Regions from separate parts of the Homo sapiens genome. Here all the other regions are linked to region 4. Evidence: promoter capture Hi-C in 16 types of primary human blood cells and fetal thymus (Javierre and others, 2016). All regions are on one chromosome and are shown on one strand. Each heading gives the region's core, a stretch centred on a gene start or on the middle of the fragment in contact. The rest is flanking DNA. Distances are from core to core; before and after follow the strand shown. Region 1 overlaps STT3A-AS1 (STT3A antisense RNA 1). Region 2 overlaps RPUSD4 (RNA pseudouridine synthase D4). Region 3 overlaps FAM118B (family with sequence similarity 118 member B). Region 4 holds the start of NCAPD3 (non-SMC condensin II complex subunit D3).

Region 1 (2,700 bases), core at 81-2,580, 8.6 Mb after region 4:
TCTCAAAATAAAAGAAAATAAACCTACAGTTTATACGTGAATTATAGTGTATCAGTTAATCCTCCTCCCTCCTGATTTATAAGTCCAAAAGTTTTGAACTGGTTGTTTCAGAAAACAATGCTTTTACTATTTCATCAGTTGCTTAAAAGGAATGTTTTGATGTAGAAGTTAGAACTTTTTCGTAGAGCTTTTCATTTTTCTTAAAGCGTCAGTTTACCTTTCTTGTATATCATTAATCAAACGAAACTCATGCCTTCATCTCATCTGTAGCACACCAGAGTAATAGTATCTGTGTTCTCCAAGCTGTTCTCTCCAGAAACCACGTTTCTACGTGTGTGCAAAGTTGTATTACTGGGATTTCCCCTGAATGCACTTCTGGATTCCACTGTTTCGTGTTATTTGGTTGGGTGTTTTGTCTTAATAAGACATAGTTCTTTTTCTTTTTTTTCATAGATTATCATCTGATAAGACATCTTGCTATTTCTTAGATTTATTTTTCACTTTTGATGAATTTTTTTTCAAGTAAGTGTTTTAGAAAGGCTGAATGGAAGCAAACATTGCCTTTGCGTGTTAGAAAATATCTGTATTTTGTCCTTAATAGCATGGCTGGGTTTAGAATTTTAGGAACAAAATTGGGACCCACCCACCCCACCCCGTATGCACACAGACACATAAAAGCACACTTTCAAGCCTCTGTGACTATATTGTTCGTGATCCACTGTGCCTTAAGAAACCTGACACCAATCTGAGTCACTTTCCTTTATCGGTAATCTATTTCCCTCTCTGATAAATTGTCTTTCCTTAGAGATTTCATCTATGTGTTTCACCTTCTTTCATTTTTTTCTGCTTTACATTTGGCAGGCCCTTTCAGTCTGAAAACTACAATTTGTATCATCAGTTCAGGAAATGTTCTTTGATTTTATTCATCTCCATTTTTCTATTCTCATTTTCTGAAGTTGCTGTTGGACAAATGTTTTATCTCCTGGTTCTTGGATACCTCTACCATTCTTAACTTTTTCTTGATCTTTTTGCTGTATGTTCTGGAAGATTTCCTCAATATTATCTTGCAGTTCACTAATTTAGCCTCTTCAGTGTCACTTTTTTTTTTTTTTCCCTTGAGACAAGGTCTCATCTGTCACCCAGGCTGGAGTGCAGTGGCACCATCTCAGCTCACTGCAGCCTCAACCTCGTGGGCTCAAAGGATCCTCCTGCCTCAGCCCTCAAGTAGTGGAAAACACAGGTGCGAGCCACCACGGCTAATTTTTGTATTTTTTTGTAGAGACGGGGTTTCACCACGTTGCCCAGGCTGGTCTCAAACTCCTGCGTTCAAGCAATCCACCCACCTCGGCCTCCCAAAGTGCTGGGATTACAGGCGTGAGCCACGGCGCCCGGCCAAATCTGTTCTTACTTTATGGATGCAGTAGCTTCTGAAATCTCTGTGAAAATAGTTACTAGAATTTTTTAAATTACCTTTTGTTTCCATAATTACTTAAATTTCCTCCAGAGCCAGGTGTTGTTATTTGTGTTTTGGAAAAGCTGCTGAGCTGATTCCGATGTTGATTCCTCGTGAAGAGGAATGATTAGAGGAACTTACCTAAATGATTAATTGGTCATTGTTTTCTTTCTCTAGGTCTCAAAGCACTACAGAATATTTAAATTTGAAATCAGAATGAGTACAAGGAGAGGCTGAACATATGGGCTAATTGCTCATCTTACTCAAAGATTCCCTGAATTCCAGTGTTTTATCCAGCTTTGAGACCTATGGAAAAATAGCTGATCATGTAATTCTTGAAATTTTTGCATAGTCATTTGCTTGTCAGTCTCTCTCACTGGACTGTCAGGTCCTAGAAGGCAGTAATCATATCTTTTTGGTTCACCCTTGAGTCCCCAGTCCCTTGCTCAGTACCTGACAGAGAAGGTGCTCAAATGCTTGTTACGTGATTAAGTCATAATTCCCTCACTTGATCCTTCAGTGGTTCTGCAGACTCATTTTAGGTCCATCCAAAATTTGTACTGGTGTATGGCTCTCGTTGTTACAAAGGTGTAAATTGCACTGACCTGAAGTCAGCTTCCTTTTAACTGCTGTAGGTTATACAACTTTGGCAGAATATCGTTTTGTTTTTTTTATTTTGAGATGGAGTCTCACTCTGTCGCCCAGGCTGGAGTGCAGTGGTGCGATCTTGGCTCACTGCAACCTCTGCCTCGCAGGTTCAAGTGATTCTCCTGCCTCAGACTCCTGAGTAGCTGGGACCACAGGCGCGTGCCACCTCGCCCAGCTAATTTTTTGTATTTTTAGTAGAGACGGGGTTTCACCATGTTAGCCAGGATGGCCTCGATCTCCTGACCCCATAATCCGCCCGCCTCGGCCTCCCAAAGTGCTAGAATTACAGGCGTGAGCCACTGCACCCAGCCCAGAATATGTGAATAAAAGGTGAGATGACTGCTAAACTATCTATTCCACCCCACTACTGATGAACAGTAACCTTCACCAGAGCAATCTCAATGATGGAGGTAAACACACATAAAGGAGCAGAATGAACGTACTACTGCTGTAATCAGAAAATAAAGTACTATTTGTGGGTGGAAAATGAGGAGACAGTGAATGGACAACTGTAGTTGCCTTTTCTCTCATAGATGCTATCCTTTTATTAAGTGCAGAGCAGTTAACACATCAGTACATGAATGTGTCATTTACGTTTC
Region 2 (2,700 bases), core at 201-2,700, 8.0 Mb after region 4:
AAAAAAAAGATATTTTCTATTTCCTTGTATAACAGTGATATTGGCTATCAATTTACATGTTTTTTACATGTTTATTGGCTATTTGAGTTTCCCTTTTGGGAACAGACTGATTATTTCTTTTGCCTATTTTTCTACAGGGTTGTTTATTATTATTATTTTTTTTTATTTAAGACCGTGCCTGGCCTTTTTTTTTTGAGATGGAGTCTTGCTGTGTCACCCAGGCTGGAGGGCAGTGGCACAATCTTGGCTCACTGCAACCTCCTCCCTGGTTCAAGTGGTTCTCATGTTTCAGCTAGCTGGAATTACAGGCACATGCCACCATGCCCAGCTAATTTTTGTATTTTTAGTAGAGATGGGGTTTCAGCCTGTTGGCCAGGCTGGTCTTGAACCCCTGACCTAAAGTGATCTGTCCATCAAAGTGCTAGGATTACAGCGCTTACAGCTCACAGGCGTGAGCCACTGTGTCTGGCCCAGGTTGTTTATTCTTTTCTATTTGATTTGTAAGTATTCATTTTATATTTTGAATGTTAGTCCTTTTTAGATTACAGATTTTGCAGATACTTTGTGAATCTGAGGAGCCCTTTAAAAATATGTATGATTGAGACTTACCCACAGAAGTTCTCATTCGTAAGTGTGGTGGTTGTGGGGATTGGCATCTGTATTTTAAAATTTGATATACAATCAAATTTAAGAACTATGATAAGATTATGGAGAATGGAGGAATTTAGGACAGTAGCTAAGACCTCAAAAAGATGTGTGTTCAACTCTCAACTGTGTCATTTAACAGCTGTGGGGCCTTGGGCAGGTTATTAAATGTCCATAAGCTTTGTTTTCTTCATCTGAAAAATGGAAACAGTAGGATTTATGAGATAGTTAAATAAGATTGATTCTTGTGAAATGTTTAACACAGTACCTAGTTCATAGGAAAAGTTAAAAAATAAAAAATAGAGACTTATTTTTCTATTCAAGCAATCAAAATATTAAGACTATAAAATACATGTTATGTTATTTGTGAAAAATGTCCATTAAGGTTCAAAATTGGTAACCATTCTCGGTATCAGGTTCATGGAGGAATTGAAATCAATCAGTTGGGTCTTGCTGATGGAACATTCTTGAGTTGTAGTGTCATATCATTAGGAAGGACATTCTTGTCACAGAAGATCTACAAAATCTGTAAAATACGATAAAATGTACCAGATAGTAGCTGAAACTGAAGTGGAGTGTCTGCGTTGTGAAATAGTGTGTGTGAGTAGGATTTTGACCCCGTGGTTAGTGATTATACAACCGACCACCAGGTACCCAGATGGACTTTTCCATCATTGACCTGAAAGAGGCATAAATTTACAGACAGATTAAACAGTCTTCTACCTGTCTGTGAGGTCATGAGGTCATGGGAGGGAGAACACCAACAGAAGTGATTTGGAATGAGTTATTGAGTTGTGGTTGTGGTACCTATGACTTCTTTCTTTCTTTTTTTAGACGGAGTCTTGCTGTGTCTCCCAGGCTGGAGTGCAGTGGCATAATCTTGGCCCACTGCAACCTCCACCTCCTGGATTCAAGCGATTCTCATGCCTCAGCCTCCCAAGTAGCTGGAATTACAGGCACGCGCCACCACGCCTGGCTGATTTTTTTTTTGTATTTTTAGTAGAGATGGGGTTTCACCATGTTGGCCAGGCTGGTCTTGAACTCCTGACCTGAAGTGATCCACCCGCCTTGGCCTCCCAAAGTATTGGGATTACATGTGTGAGCCACCACGCCTGTCCCCTGTGACTTCTTCGGGTACAGTTCCCTCCTGTTTTACCTATGTGGCAAATGAGCCAGGAACGGTTCTCTGAATGTTTTATTAGGTTCATTCATCCAATTATTCATTTGTTCATTTACCATGCAGTCAGAATCTACAATCTTTTATTATTTGAAAAAAAATACAAAACTATATTACCATAATTTTATTTTAACTGTACATATCCATTTTTAAAGACTGGAAAGACCATGTTATTAATGTAATTTTTTTCTTTTTTTACCCCAAATATTCTACAATTAGCATGTATGACTTTAGTAGTAAAAAAGATAAGCTTGTGAAATCTATCAGCTCTCAGGCTAAGCATTACACCAAGAGAATCTTGCACGATCCTTCAATCATAAGAAATCACATGTTAGTGCAGAAGGTCCAGCGTGAAATCCTCTAAGTGGCCAAATCTAGGAGTTCTTCTCTGGCTTGGTTGGCTAAAGCAGTGATCTGTGTCACCCCCAGGGCCATCACTGTGCATGTCCCCATGCCCTCAGCAGGAGTCGTGGACATCCCCATTGTGGAGAAGGAGGCGCAAGGCCAGCAGCAACACCACAAGGTGAGCGAGCAGCCTCCCTGAGGCATGGGTTGCTGCTCTTCCTTGGGAATCATATCTTGATTTCTTTGGCTTCAGATGACATTGTCCCCGAGCTACCGCATGGACGATGGGAAAATGGTGAAAGTGCGGCGCAGCCGGAATGCGCAAGTTGCTGTAACTCAGTACCAGGTGCTCAGCAGCACTCTCTCCTCCGCCCTCGTGGAGCTCCAGCCCATCACTGGTGAGAGTGTCACTTTTCCGCAGTGGGATCACAAAACCCTGTGCCACCAGGTTTTGTCCAGGGCCTCGTTCTGAGCAGCTAGTAGTGTGGCTGACTTGTGTGAGAATGTGCTTCTGGTGCTGATCTGAGGCCGGG
Region 3 (2,700 bases), core at 153-2,652, 8.0 Mb after region 4:
AATTCAGTTCCATATGTAGACTGCAGCCTTTCCCATCAGTGGATAAAGCAAACTCACGGTTTCCTCTATCTCAGCACACAGGGAGACAGGAATCATGTCTAGCTGTGCCAAGATCTGATTCCTCTGTGGATCCCAGTCTTGAAATATTTCATCTATGGTGAACTCGATTGGCTCCTAATTTTATCCCTTAGCATGCCTGAGACCCTCTACCTTCTGTCAGATAAGATCTGTATCACACTCATTTCCTGAACATGTGCTTTAACAGAGTCACTGAGGAAATGCCAGACTGATGCCACTTGTTCTTGCCATTTTACTAGCAAACAATGACCCCATCTGAACAAGGTAAGGAGAAAGACCTCACTAGAGGTAAGGTTTCTGAAAGACATTAAGGATTGAGAAGAAAAACCCCAAATTCTAGAATGCCCTTTAACTTAAGCCCCCAAAATAAATCATACTGGTATTCCAGGCTCAAGAGCTCAGATGTGGCTGGACACGGTGGCTCACGCCTGCAATCCCAGCATTATGGGAGACCGAGGTGGGTGGATCGTGAGGTCAGGAGTTTGAAACCAGCCTGGCCAAGATGGTGAAACCCCGTCTCTACTAAAAATACAAAATTTAGCCGGGTGCGGTGGTGGGCGCCTGTAATCCCAGCTACTCGGGAGGCTGAGGCAGTAGAGTCGCTTGAACCTGGGAGGCAGAGGTTGCAGGTAGCCGAGATGGCGCCACTGCACTGCAGCTTGGGTGACAGAGTGAGACTCTGTCTCAAAAAACAAAAAAACAAACAAAAGAGCTCAGATGTTGCTTGTTATTTTCTATTATAAAGCCAAAGTAACGCATATGTATAGGGAACAAAAGTGTTCCAAGAAGAAATAATGAACAAATTAAAACCTAATTTGAATTAGAAGTTGGTGACTGGAGGTGATGATTTTACCGTGCAAAGAATGACAACTTCTTTCTTTGTCACTGCTTTCCTCCTGTGCAGCTTCTGAGAAGGTATATCCTGAAAATAATGACACATGTTGCTAAGTAAGGAGACTTTTAAAATATCAGATATTTCCCATAGATCAAGTAGTATGATCACACAAACAATTCCATCATAAATGGCATAGGTTATTCATTAAAAATGAAATTGAATAACTCTTTAAGGGCAAGATAACTCTTTAAGGACTCTAGTGAGTCCTTAACAATTGAATTTCTACTACAAAAATAGTGTGGGTTACCTATGAGAAATAACCCTCAGTAGCTTACTTTTATGTCAACAGAGTAAACACAACATACTGCGTACAAATGCAGATTCTTCCAAGTCTGGGGCATTCCAGAAGATGCCATCATTATAAAGGATATTCTCTATGAGTTAAAATTTGAGGCCAGGCGCGGGTGGCTCAAGCCTGTAATCCCAGCACTTTGGGGGGCCAAGGCGGGTGGATCAAGAGGTCAGGAGTTCAAGGCCAGCCTGGCCAAGATGGTGAAACCCCATCTCTACTAAAAATACAAAAAATTAGCTGGGTGTGGTGGTGGGCACCTGTAATTCCAGCTACTCGGGAGGCTGAGGCAGAGAAGTTCTTGAACCTGGGAGGCAGAGGTTGCAGTGAGCCAAGATCATGCCACTGCACTCCAGCCTGGGCAACAGAATGAGACTCTATCTCAAAACAAAAACAAACAAACAAACGAAAAATTGACAAGTCTTAATGAAGGGAAGACTTTCCTGCCATAAAAATTAAAATGGGCTAGGCCCAGTGGCTCACTCCTGTAATCCCAGCACTTTGGGAGGCCGAGGCAGGAGGATCACTTGAGCTCAGGAGTTTGAGACCAGCCTGGCCAACATGGCAAAACCCCATCTCTACCAAAAATACAAAGGTTAGCCAGGTGTGGTGGCACACACCTGTAATCCCAGCTACTCAGGAGGGAGGCTGAGGCAGAACTGCTTGAACCCAGGAGGCTAAGGTTGCAGTGATCTGAGATTATGCCACTGCACTCCAGCCTGGGTGACAAAGCGAGACCCTGTCTCAAAAAACAAAACCAAAAAAAAAAATGTTTAGTAAATACATTCCACTTCATTTTCACCCCTTTTCACTTCCTTGAGGATTTCCAACTTAAATAGAGCTGAAAATTAAAAACAAGTTTTTTGGCTGGGCGCAGTGGCTCACACCTAATCCCAGCATTTTGGGAGGCTCAGGAAGGTAGAATGCTTGAGCTGAGGAGTTCAAGACCACCCTGAGCAACATGGCGAAACCCCATCTGTACCAAAAATACAAAAATTAGCCAGGTGTGGTAGTGCATGCCTATAGTTCCAGCTACTCGGGAGGCTGAGTTGGGAGGATCACTGGAGCCTGGGAAATCAAGGCTGCAGTGAACCATGATCATGCCACTGCACTCCAGCCTGGTGATAGAGTGAGAACCCATCTCAAAAATAAATAAATAACAAATTTTGAAAATTAAAAAATTTTACCATTAAAAACCCTCAAGTGTAACTGTCTGTAGTGATTAAGTGAATTCACTTGGCTGCACCAGGTGAAATATCCTGGAGGTCCCCACATTGTGAGCATGGAATCCAAAACCATTGATAGCAAAACCAAGAACAGAAGGATAAGAAAGATATGAAGTAGATTCGTGTTACAGTTATTCTTAGAATTAAAAGGAAAATAAATGTTTTACAACATGAAGAGGTACAAAAAAGTCACTCAAGTTCACTTCATTCAT
Region 4 (2,700 bases), core at 194-2,693:
TGAATCACCCTGCTCCCCGGCCGGCTGTCGGCGCTGGGGGAGGGGGTCCCGGGGGTCGACTCACCGATCTGCCCGATGAACTCGATCTTGATGCCCTGGTGCTCCAGCCGCTTGTTGGGGTTCTTGAGGGCAAGGCTCACCTTCCCGGAGACCGTCTCCCCGTCGTAGAAGAGGAAATATTTCTCCTTCTTCCCGTCCTCCGTCTTGTGCTCGGCCCGCTTCCTACTCTCTGCATCGTTCAGAAGGATTTCCACCTCCACGCTCTGCCCGAAGCCGAAGAAGCTCATCGCACCGCCGGGCCGGGCGGGTCTCGGTAAGGACCGCTCCCTCGCACCGGGGCGCGGGCTGCCCTAGGTAAAGAAGGCCAGAGGGCCCGATGCGCGAGCGCGCTCGGCCGCCGCGGGGCTGCCTGGCTCCGCCGCTGCCGCCGGGCAGTGGGCGCCGACGGACAGCCGGCTCCACGGGGGAGGGGCACGGCCGGGGGAGGCTGGCGGCTGCGGGCTGCGGCGCCCGAGCAGCAATGCACCGAGGAGCAGTGCCCTCGGCCGAGCCAGTCCCAGCCAGTCCCGCGGCCGGTGGCAGTGGGCGGGCGAGGGTCGGCCGTGCAATGCTGCGGGGGGCAGCCGCACAGAGCCGGGTGTGGGTGGCCTGCGCCTGCCGGGTGGGGTCCAGCGCCGAGCAGCGCTGCGAGCTGCCCAGCCTCCGGCGGTGCAACGCACCGAGGCGCTTCGGCGGCTCCGGGCGGGGGAGGGGGCGGGCGAGCTCCAGCCCGGATGCGCTGGAGCAGCGGCGCGCAGGCGCACCCCCTAACGCTCCTGGGACTCCCGGCAGCCCGGAGGAGAGCTCGCTGCGCATGCGCAGGGAGAGCGCGGCCGGCGCTCCAGCGGTCGGCATGGCAGCTGCTACCTCGCTGGGACAGGCTCTGGGCCCACGCGTGCCGCGCAGTCCCTACAGAACTGCAGTTGTCTTGTCTTCTCGGAGTGCTTTCGGCTACTTTTCCCTTATTACTTTAGCTCGATACACGTTGGGCTGCCTTTCACATTCGGATATTACGCTGTTCGAGTGCTGACGGGAAAGGCAGCCCTTTGACACGCACGCGAAATGTCGCCTGACGAGGGCAAAGGTGACAGTTACTACCGGAAGTACCCTATCTCAGATACCCTTTAGATTTTCCCCCATTGAAGAAAAACGAGGCGGGAAAAACGCTGTTAGGGTTTAACTCAGGCCCTGGCTCCTTCTCGAACGAATTAGCGGAACACCCGCAGGAGCCTTGTTTGGCTTCCACTTTTCGGCCCGCCCAGTTCTCTGAGCGTGCGGCGGACGACGCCGGTGATTGGTTGAGCGAATGGAAACGGCTCGGCGCGGTGGTTGGCCAGTGGGAAATTCTGTACGTTGTGATTGGTCCACAGGAACGACTCGGCGCGCGCGCGGGAGCGAGCTTTGAAAGTTGAGCACGGCGGCGGCGAGCCGGTGCCCTGGGATCATGGTGGCGTTGCGGGGCCTTGGTAGCGGCCTGCAGCCCTGGTGTCCGCTGGATCTTAGACTCGGTGAGCAGATGCAGCCGGGAGGCCCGGGGGCCAGGGCGAGGGTCCTATGCGTCCCCGACGATGCCTAAGCCCGGGCCGGGGTGCCGGTGGGGGCGGGGTGGGGGCGCCCGGCTGTCGGCGGTGCCTGGGGTCCCCAGGGCCGTGCCACGCCAGGATTGCGGCTAGCCAGGTTTCCCGTGGGGGCTCAAGCCGGCCAGGCCACCCTTAGAATAAGCGAATGTTGGCCAGTCTCTTCTAGCGCCTGTGCATCTGTTTTCTCGGCCTTCCCCTTCTTCCTGTGCGTGTCTTCGTGCACCTATCTATTCTTACCTATTAAGATGGTTTTAAATTGCAAATCTCTTTCTTCCGCCAGACTTATTTCTTGAACTTCATGTTCATAGGTTCCACTGGATGTCTCACATGCAGACATCATCAAACGTCACATGAGTGAAAATGGGATTCCCAAAGCCTGCTAATGGCACCATCCAAGCCACCAACCCAGGAGTCATGGCATTTCTGCTTCCCCTTTCATGCCCACTACCACTGTCCTGCCTCTGAGGTGTCTCAGGGCAGCCCCGCTCCATTCCTGATGCTGCTGCCTTCATCATAGCCTCGAGCAATTGCAGGAGTATTTTAGCTGCTTTCTGATGTTAACTGTGCCAGCCCATCCCCCACACTTTTGCAGAACGACTTTTGAAAACACAGCTTTGAATGTGTCAAGCCTGTACACCTTTAATGTTTCCCCTTTGTTTCCTAAATAAATGACCACATCCTTGGCATGCTTTATAAGAGCTGCCATTCTCTCCAGTTTGATTTTCCAAGAGCATAACCTTTGGAGTCGGACACACTTGGATTGTTCCCTTGGCTCTACCCCATAGCATCCATGTATTACCGTGCAGGTTGTTTATCCTTGCTAAACCCCTGTTTTCTGATCTGTCAAATGGGGAGTACAATATCTACCTCACAGGGGTTTTTGTAAAGATAAATTTGTACTTGCCACATAATAACTGCTGAACAGATACTAATACCCACAAGCAAACACTGTAACAATTTTGTTCATTTAGAAACACTTTAATTTCTTTCCCTTTGTGTGCTTTGTTACACTGTGCTTGCTGGGAGGCACTTTTCTGCATTTATTTGCCTGGCAAAACTCTTACATTCAGGTCCAATTGAA

What was found. The method cuts DNA at HindIII sites, captures the fragments that hold promoters and counts their contacts. A CHiCAGO score of 5 or more calls a contact.
Region 1: a contact is called between a fragment that was not itself captured here and the fragment with the promoter of NCAPD3 in region 4, in 2 of 17 cell types (neutrophils and monocytes). The highest score is 9.9, in neutrophils.
Region 2: a contact is called between a fragment that was not itself captured here and the fragment with the promoter of NCAPD3 in region 4, in 5 of 17 cell types (monocytes, neutrophils, fetal thymus and 2 more). The highest score is 15.5, in monocytes.
Region 3: a fragment that was not itself captured here is called in contact with the fragment with the promoter of NCAPD3 in region 4 in 1 of 17 cell types (neutrophils); the score reaches 6.5 in neutrophils.

The regions. Positions count from the first base shown.
Region 1 is chr11:125,586,803-125,589,502 of GRCh38, reverse strand. All of the region lies in intron 1 of STT3A-AS1 (STT3A antisense RNA 1), which reads left to right. Among named protein-coding and RNA genes, the nearest start is that of STT3A-AS1, 4.4 kb to the left of the region's middle. The HindIII fragment of the contact is 4,824 bases long and covers 1-2,700 here.
Region 2 is chr11:126,205,333-126,208,032 of GRCh38, reverse strand. RPUSD4 (RNA pseudouridine synthase D4) reads left to right here. Exons shown (of 7, transcript NM_032795.3): 4 at 2,252-2,345; 5 at 2,421-2,565. Among named protein-coding and RNA genes, the nearest start is that of RPUSD4, 5.0 kb to the left of the region's middle. The HindIII fragment of the contact is 1,248 bases long and covers 827-2,074 here.
Region 3 is chr11:126,227,525-126,230,224 of GRCh38, reverse strand. It overlaps FAM118B (family with sequence similarity 118 member B), which reads right to left. Exons shown (of 9, transcript NM_024556.4): 2 at 932-1,000. Among named protein-coding and RNA genes, the nearest start is that of FAM118B, 17 kb to the right of the region's middle. The HindIII fragment of the contact is 2,916 bases long and covers 1-2,700 here.
Region 4 is chr11:134,222,710-134,225,409 of GRCh38, reverse strand. It overlaps NCAPD3 (non-SMC condensin II complex subunit D3), which reads left to right and starts at 1,443. Exons shown (of 35, transcript NM_015261.3): 1 at 1,443-1,547. The coding sequence starts at 1,484. VPS26B (VPS26 retromer complex component B) reads right to left here and starts at 739. Exons shown (of 6, transcript NM_052875.5): 1 at 65-739. The coding sequence starts at 287. RefSeq lists enhancers at 1-2, 103-162, 953-1,002 and a silencer at 363-832. The HindIII fragment of the contact is 9,666 bases long and covers 1-2,700 here.